Regions from separate parts of the Homo sapiens genome. Here all the other regions are linked to region 4. Evidence: promoter capture Hi-C in 16 types of primary human blood cells and fetal thymus (Javierre and others, 2016). All regions are on one chromosome and are shown on one strand. The core of a region is centred on a gene start or on the middle of the fragment in contact, and the rest is flanking DNA. Distances in the headings are between cores, read along the strand shown.

Region 1 (3,165 bases), core at 241-2,740, 190 kb before region 4:
ATAGGATATTTAGAATAGTTAATGTGGGTAAGGTTTTAGACACCTTAGATTACAATATAGCCTTAGAAACACATACAGAAGAATTTTTTAGCACCCACCATAGCCCTAATTTTAATCTGTGTATAAATAAGTGACATCCTATAGTTCTTGGATCTTCATGCCAGTGTTGAAATATGAGCACTGAGCTATGGGTTTGCTCCATCCTTTCCAAGCACAGGATTCTAAGTATAAAAGAGGGCAGGAAAAGTCAGTATCCTTCAGTACTTGAGAACTGAGTGTTCCTCTACTTGGTGATGGCTTTCCAACTAAATGCCACCTGATCTGCTCCAAGGGCACATCCTTAATTCCCTTAGCTCTGTGTGTGTGAACACATTTTTAAAGCTTCATTTGGCTATATAGATGATTACAGAGTGTGTTTGTTTGTGTTGTAAAACATTGTAATGCTAGTTCCGTCTCAACCTTACCTTGAACTTCTTCCACTTCCTTTGTAATTTGCCAAATTATCTTCTACACAGTTGAAACCAAGAATTGTTACTAATGGTAATGATAATGATATAATTTTATTCATAAACCATACAGAAATTGCGTCTTCATTCAAATCATCTAAATGGCTGGGTTCTCTAAGTGATCGACTTAAATGGTTAGGTTTGCAAGAATCGCTTGGTAAAACTATTTGTGTTTAAGCCAGGTAGGCTGCCAACACTGGGCATACACCCAGCTTTCTTGGCCTAAAGATGTGTTCTCCTAGGTAGAAGCCACCTGGAATGGCCAAAAACAGAAAAACCAGAACTATAGTGTTCAGAAAACATCTACAGTGTGTGCAGATAAGGAGAGAACAAAAGAAATCAAGATATTTAGATTTGTATTACAACTGCTCTACAAAAATATGGTAATTTTTCTAGTCTGTCAAGAGTGTATGTCTGTACTTTTGATCTCAAGACAATGGGGACAGTTATATTACATAACCCATGCAAAGTCACGCTTGATACTTAAGACTATATAAAAATGATGGTTCAATTTCAAATAACCACACTGATAGTAGAATTCAAACTTAATCTCTTTACATCCAGAGGTCAAATTACATTATGTATTTGCCTCTAATAAATAGTTAGAGGAACCATAAACTCAGGCTACAGATGTCTGTATAGCCTAAATTCACCTTTCATCCAACCACCAGTAAAAACTTATAGTTTTCACATAAAACTATTTTTATCTTTCTTGCAAGCTTCTTATCTGAAATAAAATTTGCTTAGAAATCACATCATACATTTAGTGTACAGCACTTGAGAAAAAAATGTATTCCTTATTTGAAGATCAAAAACCCTGTACATGCTTAGTAAGTCTATATATTTAATTTAATCTGTCAAAAGTATCTTTAACATATCATCAAGATCATGGTATAGTAATAGACTTAAACATGATTCAAGATGTTTGCAGGCTCACAAATATAAACCAAGACATAATATGCCATTGATAAAAGTGTCAGCTCCATTTAAGACATTAATGAATACTACAAAGGTGACACTTTATATTCTATTAGTTATTTGTCTTCTTAGAATTGGTAAGCTACATAAACATAAAATGACTTACCTTCTTGAGCTTCTGAATCCATCAAGTAATGAAATGATGGTAGGTGATATATTGATGTTTTCTTCATTATTTCTTGAAAACTAGATAGATAATACATTAAAATATCAAATGGTAATAATTCAAAATATGTATGGAGTGCTTTTATAGTTTCTTAATAAAGCTTAACTTCAAATACAGCAGACAAAATTATATTAAAATATCATATATTAACGAAGCGTGACTTAAGAAAGACCATCTAAACACTATCTAGAACAAATTAAAATCAGAACAAAAGCTTCTGAGTCAGAAATTTTAAAAAGCTACTACAGAAAGAAAACATATTCTTCACCAGAGACTACCTCAGTTGTAACAAAGAAAGGCATCATCTTCATATTGACTAGTAAGACTGCAATCCTAAAATTTAAGAGGCGATTAAAACATTGAAAGTTCACTTGTTACCATCAATGCATCATTAGCACCTATGCAATGTCAAACAGCCTCATTGCCAGATAATCTTTTGAGCAGCGTCTACCTTAAGGAGTCCATACCATCACAGCCGATATATTTAAAACTGAAGAAACTATTTATGCCTCTTGAATAGAGCAGATTATCTGAATAAATTTAACAGTTATTCAAACTTTAGAAAATAACGATTTGATATTTTACTTCTCAATCTGGGGTAAAATAACAATTGCAGTACCATGAATTAATATAGCACTCCTTTCTTCCGAGAATCCCAAAGCACATTTTACAGCCACCACATTTTCTTTTACAGCATACTTCAGCAAGTTAGAAGACATTATTTTCCCTACAGTTTGCAAATCAGGAAAACCAAGGTTAAATTATGTCATTGAGGCTACACAGCTAAAACGATAGCAAAAGTGGTCACATGTTTTGCTCCCAATTTAGATCTCTTCCATTAAAGAAAGACATGTCTGCCTTAAGGCTGATATTTAAATGGAAAGCCTGGACATACCTAAAGGAGTTAGCTGAGTTTCTAGAAGGTTAAAATGTATCATCCACAATTTTTGTTTTTGCTGCTGGGACCTCTGGTAGTGACTGAAAGGCTAGCATCGCAGCACAGTTTACTACTATACACACTCGCTACCACTGGTAACGAGTCCAGGCAGAAGGGATTAGGATTCTGACAGCTGCAGCTCCCACGCCTCTGGTTATACAGCAGTGAGACGGCAATGCCCGTAACTAAGGGGGCAGAAGGCTAGGAATATCCCACGAGTGTCTCGTGAACAGAGCTAAAGGTGAATACAACCCACTCCCGGAAGTGAGTGAAGACTATTTGGAGGAAGTGATCCAGCTTTTAACTTGGATGCCAAGAGTTATTCTAAGACTCCGTGGCTATGACATTCTAGGAAATGAACGCTACATATTTTTCATGTCACCTATCTGCATGGGAACACTGTCTTTAGACTCCAACAACCATACTAGAATGTCTGTAGCATTGCTCTGCACCCAGAAATCAAACTACCATGATTCCTTTTTATTCAGACTGAATGGGCAGGCTCCGAACATAGATCCATCTGTGCACCTGCCCAAGTGCATGTATGTGTGCCTCTCAGAGGACATACACATTTCCCA
Region 2 (2,774 bases), core at 45-2,544, 130 kb after region 4:
GGATACAGTCCTGAGTTTGGATGGCACATAGTTCGGCTGAAAAAGCATGGGCTGAGTGCCCGTACCACTTCCCACCTTAGTTGGGTGTCCTTGCTCAGGGCCAGGCAGCCCTAGCTTGGGTCAGCTACCTAATTTTCAGGGTTTCTTTGCTGCTCTACCTCCTGTGGTATCTATTTGCTTATTTCTCTGAACTTAGAACCTAGTGATCTTGTGAGCACGCCAGGTAGCAAAATGCCTCTTGTACCGAAGATTCCACTAGTCTTTTTCCAGTTGTCTGGCATTGCTCCTAAACATTTCTTCATTATGTGCCTGATGTGTTTATTACAATTTTATTTGTAAGAGTAAAACATTGGAAACAAACTGGCTATCTGGCTATTAGAGAATGAGTAAATGATTCACTTGATGTCATGATAAAATAACAATTTTGAAGTTTTGGGACAATTGTTAATGATAAATGCTAAATTAAAAAAATTCTTTAAAATCTATGTATACTATGATTGCTCCTATGTAAAAATGTGTGTATAAGATTATTTGAAAGACATACTTAAATTGTTATTAGTTATTGTATTATGCAGTTATGAGTGGGTTTTTCTTCATTCTCTAACCTTTTTTTGGAGAACATTACAAAAATCTAATGTCTTGGATTTTTCCAAAAATGCTCATTTTGGAATATAAAAATAAAGTATTTCCTTTAAATTGATTTTCTTATTTTTAAAAAGGCTCTATTAAGTTGCATATCTATTAGTTGCCAATATAATGACTAATGAATAGTTGTTTATAAGCTATATGAAGTATAGAATCTCATAAAACATTGTTGTCTTACAGTGTTGCAACTCCAGCTTGAGGGTGTAGAATTTAGTATACTCAATTCAGACTGTAAAAGTATAAGTTGGATTTGGATAGATATTGCAGAATCTTAACTTAATCACAAAAAGCTGTGTAAGAAGTTACGTCTGCTAAGTTATTTTTCTGTAAGAAGCTGCTCAGGGAATGGCTCACATTGAATCATCCTGGAAGAAGCTCTCAGCCCTTGTACTTGATATCATAAGGCCAACTGCTGTTGCAAGCCCAAGAAAGGTAATTCTACCTTCTTAGTTAAGGGATTAAAGTGCATCCTTGAAAAGGTTTTCAAGTAAGAATAGAAATGATAAATAAATTTATAATTTTGTGGAAGTTGGATACACATAGGTATTACAGTAAGTTCTCTAGCTAGTCTATTCTTTGCCTGTTTTTTCTTTCTCTGCTTTAAAATATTTAAAGTAGTTAAAAGAGTGAGTTTCAAAATATATCCTTAGACTCCTTAGGTTGTCCAAGACCCTTTCAGGGGATCCTTGCGGTCAAGACTATTTTCATAATATAAGTTGCTATGTGCTTCCCCCTTCACATGTTATTTGCCTGTTAGGAGCCTGCAACTTTTAAGAAAACAACCGACAGTTTTTTGCCAATCATAAAGTTTCAGTTTTCAAGATAAAATTAGATACTTGAGTCTGTCACTGTGAGTTCAACACTTTCCCAGCACTTACTGAGACTGGGGGTGATACTGACACACTTTTTTTTTTTTTGATATTTTGAAGTAAAATGTGTCCACATTTGGAAGAAGTAATTAACTCAGTGAACCAATATATTCCAAATGACCAATGCATGATGTTATAAAATCATACATAGGTAAAAAATCTATTTTAATCGCAAGAAAGACCATTGGATTTTAATGTCACAGAGTACAAAAGGTTCATTAATATGATTTCAGATTCCACATTGCGACTAACTTTTACTAAACTATCACTTACGGAATTCTGGTGTAGTATCAAAGAAGAATAGCCGTAATTATTTGAAAAGATAATTAAAAATACTCCTACCTTTTCCAAATACTTGTCTCTGTTAATCTGAATGTTCTTTATATACTTTAACCAAAACAACATGTTACAATATATTGAATACAGAAACAGATATAAGAACCTAGCAAAGCTATCCTTCAAAAATGAGGGAGAAATAAAGTATTTCCCAGACAAGCAAAACCTGAGGGAATTAATTATCGCTAGATCAGCCTTACAAGAAATGCTCGAGGGAATACTACATTTGAAGTCAAAGATTATATCACCTTCATGAAAACATACAGAAGTATAAAGCTCACTGATAGAGCAGATAAACAAGGGATAGAGAGAAAGAAAACCCTTATAATTCCAGAAAACCACAAAACCACAATGATAAACACAAAAGAAAGAAGAAAGGAAAGAGGGATATATAAAACAATCAGAAAACAATAAGATGACAGGAGTAATTTATCATCTATCAACACTAATCTTGAATATAAATGAATTAATCTTCCACTTAAAAGGTATAGACTGGGTGAATGGATAAAAAAAATGACCCAATTATATCGTACTACAAGAAACTCACTTCGCCTATAAAGAAACATGTAGACTGAAAATAAAAGGATAGAAAAAGATATTTCAAAAAACCAGAAACCAAAAGCAAGCAGGAGTAGCTATATTTATTTGACATAATGTAGACTTTAAGTCAAAACTGTATAAAGAGATAAAGAAGTTCATTATGTAATGATAAAGGGATCAATTCAGCAAGAAGATATAACAACTGTAAATATATATGCACCCAACACCAGAGCACCCAGATATATAAAGCAAATACTAGAACTAAAGGGAGAGACAGACTATGATTCAATTATAGTTGGGGACTTCAACATCCCACTCTCAGCATTGGGCAGATCATCCAGACAGAAAATCAATAAAGAAACGTTGGTTTTAAACTGTACTTTA
Region 3 (2,896 bases), core at 305-2,804, 130 kb before region 4:
CTTCAAGATCCAAGCAGCTGCATCAAGCAGCTGTGACTGCCCCAGAACCATGTGTCTCTCAAAGCCAAGAATATTTACTATCAAGCCTTTTATGTAAAAACATTTGCCAACTACTGCTCCTCTAGGTTAATGATTTTCAGTACCGACACATCCAGGTGGTTATACAAGATGACCCCCTTTGTGGGCACAGAAACAAAATATTAGAACATTTATTTATAGTGACCCTCATATTTTAAAAAGAAATTAAGCTTTACTAGTATTTATTCTGTGGATTGAGTGTGGATGCTGTCTACACTATACAACCCTACATCCAAAGGTCCCAGGTCACACATGTGCTATCCTGAGAGAGGGGCAGGAACTCCACATGGTGGTGCCAGCTCAGGTTGCTAATTACTGTGCCTTGACACCCCTTACCCTCTCACTTGCTTTCACTGAACTGCTATGTATTCAGTTTACAGGGTGCAAAATGTCATTGGCAGACATTTTATAAAACTTTTAATGAACACAACTGACAGAATCATTATTATACCTTCTAATAACTGGAGAATGACCATAAAAATCTTTTGGACCAGAAAAAGGTTTGGCACATCCTGTGGAAGTAAACATTCAAGAACTATAAAAGACAATGCCAAATTATGCATTTTCTTTTCATGGCACACGAAGACACCTCAAATAAGATCCAGAAGAAACAAGAGACAGCAAAATCAGATATATACACATTTCCTACATTACACCAAATACAGAGGAAAAAGTTTCAATAGATTTAAAAAATAAAAGGGTTTGAAAATATGAGTAAGGAATGAGGTTATTTTTAAAAGCAGATTTTTAAAAGAACTACATATTTTAGAATAAAAATGATTGAAAACCTCTTTTAAAAAACTCAAACTCAATAGGCAGTATAAAAAGCAAACTAGACACAGCTGAAGAGAAAATTACCAAACAGGATAATATATCCTTTCTTAGTTTTTCGTTGCCTGATCACTTACTGAGAGTAGTGTGGTGACAGTCTCACTAGAAACAGAAATAAATAGCAACACAGCATTTAAAGCTGTGTTTTCCAGAAGGATAGACAGGCCCCATGTGAATGCATAGAATTTAGTCAGTAGGAATAAATGCTAGCACTTACTGAGTCCTTACTCTGTAACACAGCGTGCTAAGTACATTACAAGTATGTCTCCTTTTATCCTCACACTGACCCTATACAAATATAGAAAGATAAAAGGTCTACATCAAGGCTCAGCAAGTGACTTGTTCAAGGTCACAAAACTAGTATGTGTAGAAAGCAACATGTAATCTCCAAGCCTGCCTCCAAGTAACCAACCTGATATACCCAATATAGGTCAACAGAAATATATCTGACTTTGTGCTCAGTCTTTTACCTTGGTAAACCATATACCCTCTATTGATAACAATTCTCTTCCTGATTAATCCTTGAGTCCTCTTCTCAAACAGGCCTGGACCTTAGACTTCTGTGTCCAGTTTTAGCATGAATCCTGCTAAGTCAGTTTAGAGAGAACCCACAACCCTTAATATCTAATCAAGTTCCTTACGGACGTCCCCTGCCAACTCCTGATGTCTCAGCCCTTGACCTGCCTTTAGCAAGAAGTCTGTTAGGCTTTAGCAAGAATCCCCATACCCTTGACCCTCTTAGTAATATCCCACCCCCAAACCCCTCGCTGTGTCCCTTGGCTATAAAGTCCCAGTTGTCTTTGTTGTCTTTGCTGTATTCAGAGCTGAGCCTGATCTCTCATTCCTACTACAATAGGCCTTTCACAAGTTTAAAATAAAGTCTTCTCACCCTATTAACAAGTGTCAGAATAATTTTTTCTTTAACAATGTATTACAATTTTCTGATTTACACAGTCAAAAGATTGTAACAATTTTAAAAATGGAAATTGCTAAATAGTACAAATTATTTAATTAGCACATAACTAAAATAATCCTTGAGATCAACTCCATTAATATTTCTGTTATAAACAAGACTATTTTATAGCAGAACTTTGTCACTTCAACAGTCTATTTTCCTGCCATTATATGTCACCACACAGGTCTAACATCAAATATTCTCAAATCCTTACATTCCTTCTTAGGAAGAAAACTGCTAACTCCATGCTGCTTCCTTAGAGTTTTACTAGCATGTGCGCGTACACACGCACATACATACACACACAAACACACACACACACCACGGACCCAAACAATACAATGTGTTAGAGTAGTGTTTGTGATATACCTTAAAGTTCTAAAGGTTCTACATAAAAAGGTTAGAAGAGGTAAAATATTAAACTGCTTATTAAAAAGTGCCCTACAGATTACATGCAAGTAACAGACTGTGCTGAGGGTTTACATAATGTCCCAGGAAGCTAAACAGGCAGTCTTTGAGACGAACTCTAAACCGTGTGTGTGTATGTGTGTGTGTGCATGTGTGTATGTGTGTATGTAAATCTTCTATATGTTTACCTACCAGTTTCTCCTGCTGTTTTATTCTTCCCATGAGGCTTATATAGAACATAAGAGCATCCTTTTACATGGAAGTGGTCATTAATTTGTCTAAACCACCTGAAAGTAACAAGAAGATTTGTTCATGGCAACAATTCTACAACAAAGATGGCATTATTCCAATTCTAAAGAAATTCAGGCATAGCCCAAAGTTGGTATACCTATGAGAGGTTGAAGCCCAGCAGCTGGATACATGGTTTACTATCAACACACATCTACATCATTATTATTTTGCAAAACTAGAAACACGATATTGCCTCTAAGAGGGTCTTCATACCTCATAAGTGTTGTATTCCCCGTGAAAGGACCAAACCTAATATCTTCAAATGGAGGTTGAAAGCCCAGAATATGTAAAGCTTCTTCTTGGGTAATAGGTGGAAGGCTACAAAAGAAACAT
Region 4 (3,015 bases), core at 318-2,817:
GCTCTGATGTATATCTTAAAGCAGCTATCTAAAAGATGGCTTTGAAGAAAGTATTAAAAAGGAACTGTTTTTTAAATTATTTATTTATTTATTTTTATTATACTTTAATTTCTGGGGTACACATGCAGAATGTGCAGGTTTGTTACATAGGTATACACGTGCCATGGTGGTTTGTTGCACCCATCAACCCATCATCTACATTAGGTATTTCTCCTAATGCTCTCCGTCCCCTAAGTCCCCCACCCCCTGACAGGCCCAGGTGTGTGATGTTCCCCTCCCTGTGTCCATGTGTTCTCATTGTTCGACTCCCACTTATGAGTGAGAACATGTGGTGTTTGGTTTTCTGTTCCTGTGTTAGTTTGCTGAGAATGATGGTTTCCAGCTTCATCCATGTCCCTGCAAAGGACATGAACTCATCCTAAAAAGGAACTCTTAATAGGATGCTAGGTTAAAGAGGTACATGTTTCTATCAAGTCACATTTTCAGTAAAATAGCTTTAAAAAAGTTTATACAAAAAAAATAAGCCTAGAAGTTGATACAAAAAAAAAAGTTGGTGAGGTTTCTTTCTCTAGATAGTAGAATTAAAGGAGATCAACATTTTTTCCTTCGTCCTTTGCTTCATTTTAAAGCTTGTAGAATGAACGCATATGTTTGTCTATGTGTGTGTCTACATGCATATAAATATACACACATATATTCACGTACATTGCAATCAGTTTTTAAAAGGTTTTTGTAGAATTGTACTGATGACTATCTTTTTGCTATTTCTCATAGGGACTGATGACACCTGGAAGAAATAAGTTGCAGAGATGCAGAATGCAATCATAGAACTAGATGCATTTGGGGAATAAGAAAGCATTAGAACGATAGAGCTGGAACAAATGCCGGCTTATCCCCAGTCATTTAAGAAAGTGGGAAAGGTGATTTACATGGGACCACAGCACATCTAGATGAACATCCTGAGTGAAAAGAAACTGACATAAAGAACACAAAATAGTGACACCAGAGAAACGAGTACCGAGGGTGGGTACAAAAACAAAAATGGGCTTTTATATCTACTCAGGTTAAAACACCATTCATCCAACTCCCTGGTTGAATGTAGCCTATCACAAGTGATTCTTTAATTCCCATTTGTCTGAGGCTTTACTTTGTGTGACCTATATTCTATTTTAAGGGTTTCTGAGCTTCACAAATGAGCACATGATTTTTCTCCTTCCCTTTTGACTATCCCTTATTTCAGTTAAATAAATCACAATGGCTTACTTTTTCTTGGAAGAGTTTTTCTGATTTCCTCTTCCCTCTGCTCTAAATCCCCCAGATTCAACGTTAAGCCTTTGACTCCCGTCCCTTCTCATGGATAGATGCTCTCCTTTCTTCCTCCCCAAAGCATTCCCTTCCTCTTGGTAGATCCTTGTGTTCTTTCTGGCTGCCTGGATACGGGTCCTAGGCAGAGGCTGGGTGGGCATGTCCTCCCTGTGGCTACTGGAGTTTGGCAAATGAGCACAAAATTTGCAAGTCTGTGCAACTGTCCAACACCCACTTCTTTGAAAAGTGAACTGGAAGTCTAACGTTTCGAACCACATCGCAGCAACTGGATGCCACAGGGGCAGCCTCTGTTCTGTTCCAGTGATATTCCTGAAACTTTTGAAGGGAATTCCATTGAATGTTGCTAGGACTGTGCGTGTGTGTGTGTGTGTGTGTGTGTGTGTGAGAGAGAGAGAGAGAGAGAGAGAGAGAAAGAGAGAGAATTCTAGCAAAGTAATGTGTCTATGAGGACTGGTAGATAATGCTACCCTAAATAACTTGGGCTTCCACTGGCTGGATTTTGTTCATCAAATGCTAATCCTTTCAGGTGTAGACCTATATAAAACACTGGGGATTAAAGAGTGCACAGAAGCCTCACATCTCTTCTGCTGCATAAGGTAAAGATACGTGTAACAATTCAAAATTATTTTGGGCATACTAACAAGGAGTCATTTCCAATTCTGTATTAATTACGAACATGCGATGTAGATCATAGATGTGCTGAACTAGTAACAGTCAGTCAGTAGATTATAGTCGTTCTTTTGTAGATTGCTTTTCAATGCACAGCTGTCTTTGGGACAGCCGGCTATGGACGTGTGTCTGAGCTCCGCGCAGCAGCCTGGGCGCCGGGGGGAAGGACTCAGCTCCCCGGGTGGCTGGTTAGAGGCTGAGAAGAAGGGGGCTCCGCAGAAAGACAGCACCGGGGGAGTCCTAGAAGGTAACCTCCTTCTTCATCACTTCAACAGTTTTCCTCAGTTGTTTTCCTGGCGATGACATCTTCAAGTAAATTTCAGTGACAAGAATTTCCATTTCCTTTTAACATTAGATTTTTTGCTATAATGAAGCTTAGCAGAAAAATGTTTTGCAAGTATAAACATAATTCCTGTTTTTTCATTATTTACTTATTAAAAGTAATTCCTGGTTTTTCATTACTTATCAAAGTTTGCACATTTGTTTTTTTTCTATGTATAGATCTAAGCTTGCTGTATTTTTGTAACAAGAACTTAAAAGAAGAACAAAAAATCTAGGTTCATTTCTGCTTTTCACCAAAATACATTCTTGGTAGCTTTGTCATACAGTGAATCTTTATAAATCAAACTGTATTTCCCCGTTAGGACAATGTAACAGTTTAGGGTTACATTTCTGGGCATGGATTCAGTTGTAAATAAATAATAGACATAACAAATGATCTAATAAAAGCCAAGATGCAGCATTTACAGTGTTCATAATTAAAGGTGGTAAAAAATGTATCCCAACTCCAATAAATGAGAATGTTGTCTATTTTTACTGCATTGTTTACGTAAAAATGCAACTCTACCTTATCTGAAAATCTGATCTCTCTAAAACTATCAGAATAGCACAGAGAATAAATGAAAATATTTCAGGCACAAAAACATATGTTTCTTTATCGTTGTAGAACCTCACAGGGTCTTATGAGAGAATACGTGTATGTCTATGTTTCCTTACAATGTTGATTGGAAAAGTGCAGCT

Evidence for each region. Contacts are between HindIII fragments. The CHiCAGO score rates a contact against its expected background, and 5 or more counts as called.
Region 1: a contact is called between a fragment that was not itself captured here and the fragment with the promoter of METTL21C in region 4, in 3 of 17 cell types (naive CD8 T cells, naive CD4 T cells and total CD8 T cells). The highest score is 6.5, in naive CD8 T cells.
Region 2: a fragment that was not itself captured here is called in contact with the fragment with the promoter of METTL21C in region 4 in 1 of 17 cell types (non-activated CD4 T cells); the score reaches 5.6 in non-activated CD4 T cells.
Region 3: a contact is called between a fragment that was not itself captured here and the fragment with the promoter of METTL21C in region 4, in 2 of 17 cell types (naive CD4 T cells and total CD8 T cells). The highest score is 5.9, in naive CD4 T cells.

What each region holds. Positions count from the first base shown.
Region 1 is chr13:102,879,593-102,882,757 of GRCh38, reverse strand. It overlaps the pseudogene METTL21EP. Among named protein-coding and RNA genes, the nearest start is that of ERCC5, 35 kb to the right of the region's middle. The HindIII fragment of the contact is 525 bases long and covers 1,228-1,752 here.
Region 2 is chr13:102,562,155-102,564,928 of GRCh38, reverse strand. No RefSeq gene overlaps it. Among named protein-coding and RNA genes, the nearest start is that of TPP2, 33 kb to the left of the region's middle. The HindIII fragment of the contact is 4,044 bases long and covers 1-2,774 here.
Region 3 is chr13:102,821,728-102,824,623 of GRCh38, reverse strand. It overlaps BIVM (basic, immunoglobulin-like variable motif containing), which reads right to left. Exons shown (of 11, transcript NM_017693.4): 6 at 2,777-2,881; 7 at 2,465-2,559. It overlaps BIVM-ERCC5 (BIVM-ERCC5 readthrough), which reads right to left. Exons shown (of 23, transcript NM_001204425.2): 4 at 2,777-2,881; 5 at 2,465-2,559. Among named protein-coding and RNA genes, the nearest start is that of BIVM-ERCC5, 16 kb to the right of the region's middle. The HindIII fragment of the contact is 2,607 bases long and covers 251-2,857 here.
Region 4 is chr13:102,693,596-102,696,610 of GRCh38, reverse strand. METTL21C (methyltransferase 21C, AARS1 lysine) reads left to right here and starts at 1,567. Exons shown (of 4, transcript NM_001010977.3): 1 at 1,567-2,242. The coding sequence starts at 2,113. The HindIII fragment of the contact is 1,740 bases long and covers 632-2,371 here.